Regions from separate parts of the Homo sapiens genome. Here region 1 is linked to region 2. Evidence: promoter capture Hi-C in human tissues and cell types (Jung and others, 2019). All regions are on one chromosome and are shown on one strand. The core of a region is centred on a gene start or on the middle of the fragment in contact, and the rest is flanking DNA. Distances in the headings are between cores, read along the strand shown. Region 1 overlaps PAK5 (p21 (RAC1) activated kinase 5). Region 2 holds the start of JAG1 (jagged canonical Notch ligand 1).

Evidence for each region. Contacts are between HindIII fragments. The study calls those that stand out against the background at their distance.
Region 1: a fragment that was not itself captured here is called in contact with the fragment with the promoter of JAG1 in region 2 in 1 of the 25 tissues and cell types used here (dorsolateral prefrontal cortex).

Annotation. Positions count from the first base shown.
Region 1 is chr20:9,603,565-9,608,319 of GRCh38, forward strand. The region is part of intron 3 of PAK5 (p21 (RAC1) activated kinase 5); the gene reads right to left. It overlaps LOC105372523 (a long non-coding RNA gene), which reads left to right. Exons shown (of 3, transcript XR_937250.3): 3 at 3,533-3,610. Among named protein-coding and RNA genes, the nearest start is that of LAMP5-AS1, 91 kb to the left of the region's middle. The HindIII fragment of the contact is 7,595 bases long and covers 1-4,755 here.
Region 2 is chr20:10,670,585-10,675,254 of GRCh38, forward strand. It overlaps JAG1 (jagged canonical Notch ligand 1), which reads right to left and starts at 3,415. Exons shown (of 26, transcript NM_000214.3): 1 at 2,866-3,415; 2 at 2,117-2,422. The coding sequence starts at 2,946. RefSeq lists silencers at 58-107, 158-207, 3,638-4,037. The HindIII fragment of the contact is 9,344 bases long and covers 31-4,670 here.

The DNA.
Region 1 (4,755 bases), core at 277-2,776, 1.1 Mb before region 2:
TTGATGAGCTAATACCCCAACTGGTACGTTAGTTAAGCAAAACTGTGTACATCCTCACCCATGATAGGGCTTTCCTGACTCCAGATAGCTTATGGATTCAAGTTATTTTTCTAGATTTACAGATAACATTAGAGTGCTTATGCTGTGCTGCTATACACACCCTTTGAAGTGCCTGCTCTCCCTCTCTGTCTGTATATAATCTCCATAACAACCGTATGAGATTTGCACTATTATCCCCATTTTACAGGTGTGGAAACTGAGTCTTGAGCCAGGAGGTAGAAAAGCTGTGCCTCTGAACCCAGGCCGTCTAGCTACAGAACCCACATCTTCACTGCTACATTCACATTGCTAACGTCATAAAAAAAGCTTTACTTCCTGACAGTTGTGTTAAGAGCTTTACATATATTTTCAAATTTAATCCGCTAAAAAATCCTATAAGATTGGCAGAATTATGATCACCACACCACAAATTATTGATATCAGGGTAAACACACCTGATAGCAATAACTTAAACACATCCTTAGAATAACCCTGTATGGCAGATGCACCTGAATGTGTGTTCCAAGCTAGGGCATCCGGGAGTGGCCAACCTGATTAGTTCCTTGTCAATGACAAATATCAGAGCCCCTGGGCTCTTCTGTGGAACACAAGCTGCCTAGGGCACTGAGGTCCTGAGTTTTGGGTTAAATGAAGGTTGCCAGCTGGATGTCATTAGGGGGAAGGTGCTATGTGAAAATGCTACATAAACTGCATGCTATTTGCAAGCAATTGCGGTTTTCCTGCCACTGGACCCTCTCCCCTGTATGTGAGCCCCCTAATAAAACCCCATGTCTCATTTTCTGGCTCTGGGTCTCTTCTCTGGCCTCTTGAATGGGGTCCCCTTTGCTATTGAGGTTAACAGGAGTTTGACACAACAGCATATGGCACAAGGACACTGAAGTATGGAGGACAAGCCACTCAGTGAAGGTCACAAAGCTATAGTTTAAGTGGAGGAATCAGGTTTTGAAGCCAGGTCTCTCTAGAGCCAAAGCTTGTTCTCTTAGCTAGAAATCCTATTCACACCCCTGCATCCAAACTTGTGACCTCTAATGACTCCTCCTGCTTTGTGAGTCCCTCCAGCTTGATCTGCTTTGTCCCTTTGCCACCCACACACCAAAATGACACCTCTTTCTCCTCCCTCTTTAGACATTTAGAGAAAAGATACCTGGTTGTCTTGTCAGTTTTCCGCCTCCAAGGGGCCATGGAATGCTGTAGGCTAGGCATTCTATGGCAGGGAGGAAAAGCCCAGGCTTGTACAACTCCTCACTGGGGCGTTATCTGGGATGCAGCTTTATTCAGAAGCACTAGGTACCCCAGTACAAGGAACTGTAGAGAGAATAAGTGTTCTAATTTGGGTTCCCTTGAAAGCAACTCAAGGAAGAAGGACTTTAGTGCAGGTTCTTTATTTGTGAGGAGATTCCAGAAAGCCACATGACAGACTGAAGAAAGTGCAATGAAAATGAGAGAAATCCACATTGGGTGCCCCATTGAGCTGGTTAATGCTGTGGGCAACTGGGCCTCTGTGCTGCAGCAGATGCCCTGCAGAGCCATGTCAAATGCAGGTCAGAGAAGCGGGGGTATTTATCCAAGAACTTCCTTTCCACATTGGTTAAGGATTACCTTTGGGGGCATTCATTGCCTGGCATTTCTGGGCAGGATTGTCATGTCAGAGAAAGCCCTTGGACACAGAGCAGAGAGAAACTGTTAGTGTGCATGAGATGAGTCCACCAAAGCTGCAGGTAAACTCAGGTGTGTTCAGGGGATATGAAGCAGGGCATCTTCATGACTGCTGTAGCCAGCTTTGCACATGGATAGATGTAGGTTTGAATATCTGCTCTGTCACCTAACTATAAGGTCTTATGCGAACTATGGAAACCTCTCTGTAAATATCAGATTCCTTCCCTAAAAAACAGACATAATGATATATTGCTAGATTGGAGGAAGGATTAAGTGAGACATGGTATGTGTTAACACCTGGCACAGTGTCAGGTATACAGTGGACAACTACTATTGCTTCCCCACTGGGTTAAAAGTGAAGAGAATTGCCAGGCAAGGTGACTCATGCCTTTAATCCCAACACTTTGTGAGGCCAAGGCAGGCGGATCACTCGAGACCAGGAGTTAGAGACCAGCCTGGTCAACATGGTAAGACCCCGTCTCTACTAAAAGTACAAAAAATCAGCCGGGTGTGGTGGCATGCAGCTGTAATACCAGCTACTGGGGAGGCTGAGGTGGGAGAATGGCTTGAACCTTGGAGGTGGAGGTTGCAGTGAGCCGAGATGGCGCTACTGCACTCCAGCCTGGGTGACAGAGCGAGACTCCATCTCAAAAAAAAGTGAAGAGAATTTAGACAGACTAGATGGTCAAAAGTGTAAGCACCAGTGTTACTCACTTTACTTAAATTTCTGGATGCTTAGTAGGTTGATATGATTTGGATCTGTGTCCCTGCCCAAATTTCATGTCAAATAGTAATCTCCAATGTTGGCGGTAGGGCCCGGTGGGAGGTGACTGGATCATGGGGGGTGAACTTCTCATGAATGATTTAGTGCCATCCCCTTGGTACTATTCTCATGATAATGAGTGAGTTCTCACAAGATCTCAGTCTTCAAAAGTGTGTGGCACCTCCTGCCGCCCTCTCTTCCTCCTGCTCTAGCCATGTGATGTATCTGCTCCACCTCTGCCTTCCCCGATGATTGTAAGTTTTCTGAGGCCTCCCCAGACACCAAGTAGATGCCAGCATCATGCTTCCTGTGCAGCCTGCAGAGGAGGTGAGCCAATTACTCTTTTCTTTATAAATTACCCAGTCTTAGTTAATTTTTTGTAGCAGTGTGAGAATGGACTAATACACAGGTGCTTGTCAAGTGAAGGAAGGAGTAAAAGACCCCACATGTGGACCGTAGCCCAGGAGGGGCAATAACTACAATTATATACAGTGGCATGAATAAGGCTGAATCTCATAATCATAATGTTGAGTGAAAGAAATCAGGCACAATCATACAGGTACTAAAGAATTCCATGAAAATTAAGTTCAAAAACCAGCAAAATGTATAGTTGGCAACGGTGACCCATGGAGGTGATTGAGAATGGAAGCAGACACAAGGTGAGAATCTGCTGGGGTGGGTCTATAACATCGTGATTCTTGATCTGATGTGTTTCCTTTGTGAAAATGTGTTGGGCTGTACACTTCATAACTTGTGCACTTAAAGAATACATTAAATGTCAATTAAAACTTAAAAACATAGGGGTGAGAGAGTATAGGCCTTGGTTTTCAAGCATTGTAGGACCTGCCTCCCCATGAAATGAGAAACAGAGACACCAAGAGATAATTTCCTTCTGTGTGCATCTAGAACAAAGAGACTTAAGAAAGCCAATCAATTTTAGAAAATTAACTAAAATTTGATATAAAAGATCTTTTGCTGATTTATGTTTTAAAAATGAAAGTCTATATTTCATATTCTCTACTAACTTCCTCCTCCCATACCTTCTAATTACAGAGGGGAAAAGAGTAACGTTGGAGTTGAAAAGCCTGGCAGACACCATGTTCGACTGAGTGATCAGAGTGAGCGCCGCCAGCCATGAAACACACTGAATCTGGAACAATGGTGCAGCCCACTATGGCTTCTCTGATAGTCCTGCCAAAGGTGCATCACCTGAACCTGACTATGAGAAAGTGTCAGCCAAAGGAAAATGGAGGGACATTCTGTAAAACAACTGGCCTGTGCTCTTCAGAAGTGCCAAGGCCAATATAAAGAAAGGCTGAGGAACTGTTCTGGAATCAATAAGACTAAAAAGAGATATGACAAAATATGCAACATGTGACTTTCAATTGGATCTTCATTATTAGGGCAACTGGAGAACCTTCTTGGGACCTGATAAATAAGTGGCAGTAAGGTCTCAGTGTTAATGTCTTAATGTTGATGGTGGCATGTGGCTGTGTAGAAAACGCAGGCATGGCGGCTCACACCTGTAATCCCAGCACTTTGGGAGGCCAAGGTGGGAGGATCACTTGGGCCCAGGAATTAAAGACCAGACTAGGGAGACCCTGTATCTACAAAAAATATTTTAAAAAATTAGCCAGGCATGGTAGGTAGCATGTGCCTGCAGTCCCAGCTACTCCGGAGGCTAAGGTGGGAGGATTACTTGAGCGTGGGAGGTTGAGGCTACAGTGAGATATGATCTTCATGCCACTGCCCTCCAGCCTGGGCAATGCAACAAGACTCTGTCTAAAAAAAAAGAAAAGAAAAAAGAAAAGGAGAAAAAGAAAATGATGCTTCTTTTTGGTACTATTAGTCGATTTAGACTGCTTTAACAGAATGTCACAGACTGAGTGGCTTTTAAACAATAGAAATCTATTTCTCACAGTTCTGGAGGCTGGGAATTCCAAGATCAAGGTGCTAGCAGGAACAGTGTCTGGTGAGGGCACACTTCCTGGTTCACAGACAGCCATCTTCTCACTATAACCTCACACAAGGGAGCTGTATGGGGTCTCTTTGACAGGGACTCTAATACCATTCATAAGGGCTCTGCCCTTATTGACCTAATCAATCACCTGCCAAAGGCCCCACCTCCAAATATCACCACACTGAGGGTAAGGATTTCAACATACAAATTTTGGAGGGATACAAGTATTCATTCTATAGCAGGTAGGTAACACACTATGGTATTTGGAATGACAGAATGTCAGGTTGGCAACTTAATAGATTCAGGACATAAAGTT
Region 2 (4,670 bases), core at 2,165-4,664:
CGTTTCTCCAACCACATACAGAAAAACAAATACACCTAAACTCCAATTTCTCTTGAGAATTAAATCTTATGTTTCACAGCAGGCCTTTCTGGGGCATCAGGGTGGAGACTTGTTTATGAGTGATACATGCGTTTGTCCCAACTTCAAAAGAACCACATTTTCAGTGGTGCCCCATCGGTCTTCCCCCATTCGAGAAAAGCCGAGAGTCTATTTCATGGTTGGTGACCCGTGGGGCCTGAAACCACAGAAGAGCACCAGCAAATGCAAATCAATCGCCTCTCCTACCCTCCCACACTATTTCCGCTCGTTTTCCATTGAGGACTCTGACCAAGTGTCAAAAGCGGACAGACGCACTTTTCTAGGTCACTTTTCCTTGGCCAGCGAGGGAGCAAGCCTCCTTGTTTTCATGTTAGCCATCCCTCTGACCCTACTCTCCAAAATGAGCCTCAGCCAGGCTGCTGCTTTTCCACATCACTAATAAGATTCCTTTTATGGTCTTGTGAAAAGCGAGGGGCTCCAGACAGATCCTCCGGCAGGAGGGTGGAACCACCTGCAGGCCCCTTCCCCCTAAACTCCAAACACACGTTCAAGGGCAGTTTGAGTATTCACAGTCAGCTTGGGCCAGCCAGATTTAAACGCAGCCAGACTCTTTAGCTTAAAGTTCTCCCTAATAGGGGATTAACAAACAAGATAAATACTCTTGGTAAAAATGAAATCCCACAACAGAAACAGCCCTTGGACCTCAAGAGAGCTTCACAGACAGCGTTGGTTTTAATTTTTCTTTTTATAAACCCCTTTTCATGGCAGTTTTTGATAACTGTCTTATCTCACCCACAGCAGAGGGCACTTTATAATGCCAGCTCCTGTAATCGTGGATTTTAAGAGCCACCCCAAGCTTCATACACAGACACAGCCAGATAGTCTCCCCTCTGTCTCCTCCCAGAATCACAACCTAAGCCGGCGGACAGGAGGCAGCAGAGTGCACCCCATTAGAGCACGTGGTGGAAAGCAATGCTCTGGGGCACCGAGCTCCCCCTCTCACCACCCACCCTCCCAGCACAGGCTAGGCCAAGCCCCAGTCTTGGCAATGAGTCATGCCTCCTGGACAGCAGGAGCCAGGCAGAGGGCACACCCCCAACATTTCCCTTTCCTCCCCTTCTGCAATCGCACCCATCTTCCTTCCACCCATTTTGGGATGTTGCAAGGGCCTCGCTGCAGGATCTGCCAGCTGGGCCCGGGCCTCGAGCTCCTTTGGGGGCGGAATGGGGCGGGGGGATGAGGGCCTATCACTTACACCCTCAGGCACTACCTCCAGAAGACCACCCCTTCCAAGCCTTGGCACGGCCCCCGAAGGCTTGCGGGGGCCGTGCACCCGCCCTTCCCGGGGAAGTCTGCAAACACAGCTGTTCCAGAGCCCGGGAACCGCTGGAAGTGAGGCCACAAGAGCTACACCACTCGGGGGCGGGGGCAGGAAGGGGCCAGCAGCGGGCGGGGGTTCCCAGGTCTACAGCTCCTGTGAGGGCCCCAAGAACCTCCTCCTGCGGCGGCCGCCCCCGGCCCTTAAGCCGAACCTGGAGAGCGCCCCCGCACACACTAAAATCTCCCGGGGAGCAGCGGGAAACGGACTCCCCCACACCCTCCAGGAAGGACACACCCGCCCTCCCGGCCGTTCACGGGAAAGGGGAGGTTGCCAATTTGGACGGCGTTCGCAGGCCAGAACTGCGCCGAGTCGCCTTCCACGGCGCACCAGGTTTAATTAGTTAAGCAAAGAGATCAGCTACAACGATCTCTTGGCTTGGGGCCGGGAGAGTTACTCTGGGAACTTCAAGTTGCAAGTTTACACCGGCCTTCCTAGGAGCCTGGTCCCATAAACCCTCTGGGATCCCCACTTTTGTGCACTAAGCAAATAGCAGCAGGAATGGGACCCACCTCGACTACCCCAGCCGAGATCTAACTATAGTGTCCCGGCTCCCTCACCCGCCACCCCTAGAGATTTCCCCAGTTAGCGCCTAGTTTCAAGCCAAAGCCCTTTAAATCCCTCTCGCAAGGGATAACAGGGCTCGGCCAGGCGCGGGTGTGAGGCTCCGCCCGGCCTCCTTCCCGAGTAGTCACTCACCGGCCAGGCGAAACTGAAAGGCAGCACGATGCGGTTGCGGTCGTTGCCGCGGCTGGCCTTGAGGTTGAAGGTGTTGCCCCCGATGACAGGCGTGGACCCTGAGCCGAAGCTGCAGGGCCCCCCGGCCGTGACGCGGGACTGATACTCCTTGAGGCACACTTTGAAGTATGTGTCACACTCGTCGCGGGTGCACTTGCGGTCTCCCGGGTTCCGGGCGCCGCCGCAGCAGTTCCCGTTCTGCAGCTCCCCGTTCACGTTCTGCATGGACAGGATCTCCAACTCGAACTGACCCGAGGCCCCACACACCTGCCGGCGAGGGAAGGAGGTAGGTCAGCGCGGGAGAAAGCTGTTTTCTTCGAGTATAGAGGTGGCGACTCCCTCCCACTCCCCGCCCCGACGAGCCCTCCTCGCCGAGTGAAAATAATTTTGCGAAACTACGTTCAAGGACTCAACATGATTCCGGGGCAAAAAAAAAAAAAAATGCACGAGTGCGGAAGAAATCCGACGACTTCCCGGGGGGCAACAGCGGAGCGAACGCGCCCCTGTCCGGCCTGGAGGGGTCACCCTCAGGAGGCAGGGGCTCCCGTGGGGGAGTTGGCGCGCTCAGCCCAGGTGCAGCCGCTCGGGCGCAGGGGCGAGGAGTCGGGCGCTCGAGGGCTGCCGAGCCTGCTCGCGGGGCTCAACCGCCCAGGGCGCCGCGAGGGGAGGGAGAGGACGGCTGGGAGGGAGGCCCGGAGAAGGGCTCCTACCTTGGCTCGCAGGGCACAGAGCAGGGCGAGCAGGAGGCTTAGGGGGCGCCCGGACCGGCCGCGCGTCCGTGGGGAACGCATCGCTGCGCCGCGCGCCGCGGGCACTCGGGACGCCGCCGCTGCTGTTCGCGCTGGTGCTGCCGCCGGTGCTGCCGTCGCCGCTGCCCCTGCGGCCGCCGCGTCCCGGCTCTAATATACTCCGCCGATTGGAGCATGCACGACTGGAAAACAACACCACTTTTCAAAAGCCCTTTCAAGAGCGGCCCGTTCCAGAAGGCAAAGAGCCCGGCCTCCTTTTATTATTCTGATCGCTTCTTTGAGACGCTCCCCCTCCTCTTCCACCTCCCGGCTTTCTTTCCTTCTCTCGCGCTCCCCTTCTTTTATTATTATGATTATGCGCAGCCTTTTATTCCCTTTTAGATCAGCTGCATGGAAAAAGGGGGGAGGGAGGGGAGAAAAAAAAAAACCAGCCTAGCTCGCGGGCCGGCCGCAGGTAACACAATGACGCGTGCCCGCCCGGCTCTCGGAGAAGGACCCGGAGAGCCCGTCTGGCAGCAGCGGCCGGGGCTGGCCACCTCTACCCAGCACGCCGGGCAGGGCGCATGCGCGCTTATTAATATTCATGAGAGGGCGTGCTCACCCTGGGCACGCCCCTCCCCTTCACGTTGCTGGGGAGGGGGTAGTGCGAGGAGGAACTTGGAAGGGGTTGGGGGCAGCGGGATGCTCAGGGCGGCGTAGAAGAACCAGGGCCCCACACCAACCCCCGCCCTCGGGAGCTTCGGGCCAGGAGGGAAGGGAGAGTGCGGGGAGGTACTTGGAAGGGATCGTTGCTCAGGGACGCCTGGAGGCCCCCAGCGGGGACCGCCCCCTCGGGCGCCCCGGGCCGTGCGCCTTTGCCCGCGCGTCGGGGCCCCAGGTGTAGGCGCCGCGGCGCTGACTGAGCGGTCGGAGCGGGGCAGCTTCCGCCTTCCGAACCGCCTGCGTCAGCTGCGGCTTTCGCCCCGGGAGGAGGGCCTGCCTGCCCGCCGGGAGTTCGGCCCGCTTCCCGCGAGCGAGCCGCCCAGAGCGCTCTGCTGGCGGCAGAGGCGGCGGCGAGGCTGGCGCGCTTGCCGCCGTCTGCTCGCCCCGCGGAGGCGACCTGGGCAGACGCTGCTGGGAACTTTGAAAAACTTTCCTGGAGCCAGGCTTGCCGCAGATTCGAGGGGAAGCCTCGGCCGCGTCCCACCCCCTCCCAAATCCGAGTCTGCGGAGCCTGGGAGGGCTCCCAGCTTCCTATCCAAACCGCGCCGGGGCAGAGGCGCGGGGAAACCGGGGGTAGAAGGCGGCGGGCACGCCGGGGCCCTGTTCAGGCTTTGGGAAGGGCCGGCGGAGATGCTGGTGGGCTTGGACGCCCTCCCCGGCCCGACGCCCCGGCCGCAGTGCCGGGATTGCACCTGTAGGCGGCCTCCGAGCAGCTCTCTGGGTGGCAAGAGATGGGCCTGGGAGGGACCGTGTCCCCAGCACCGCCAGCCGCGGAACTTGCCTTCTCTGGGGTGGCAGTGGAAACCGATACTGTTTTCCACCTTGAGGCAAGCCTCGCAATTAACAGCTACACTCCTGGTCATAATCAAGGTCGAAGAAAGCCCGTGGGCTGGCCGTAGCCTCTGCTAACCCCTCTCCCACGGGCTTGCTGTTGCATTTGAGGGGACCTTTATATGGAAACATCGACTTCCTTTGAAGGGTGGACAAAGTTTTGGCCCTAATAGTAGGTATGTCCTGCAGAAAAGCGTGACTATTCAGCGGCCGGTTTGGGGCTTGAGTTCTCC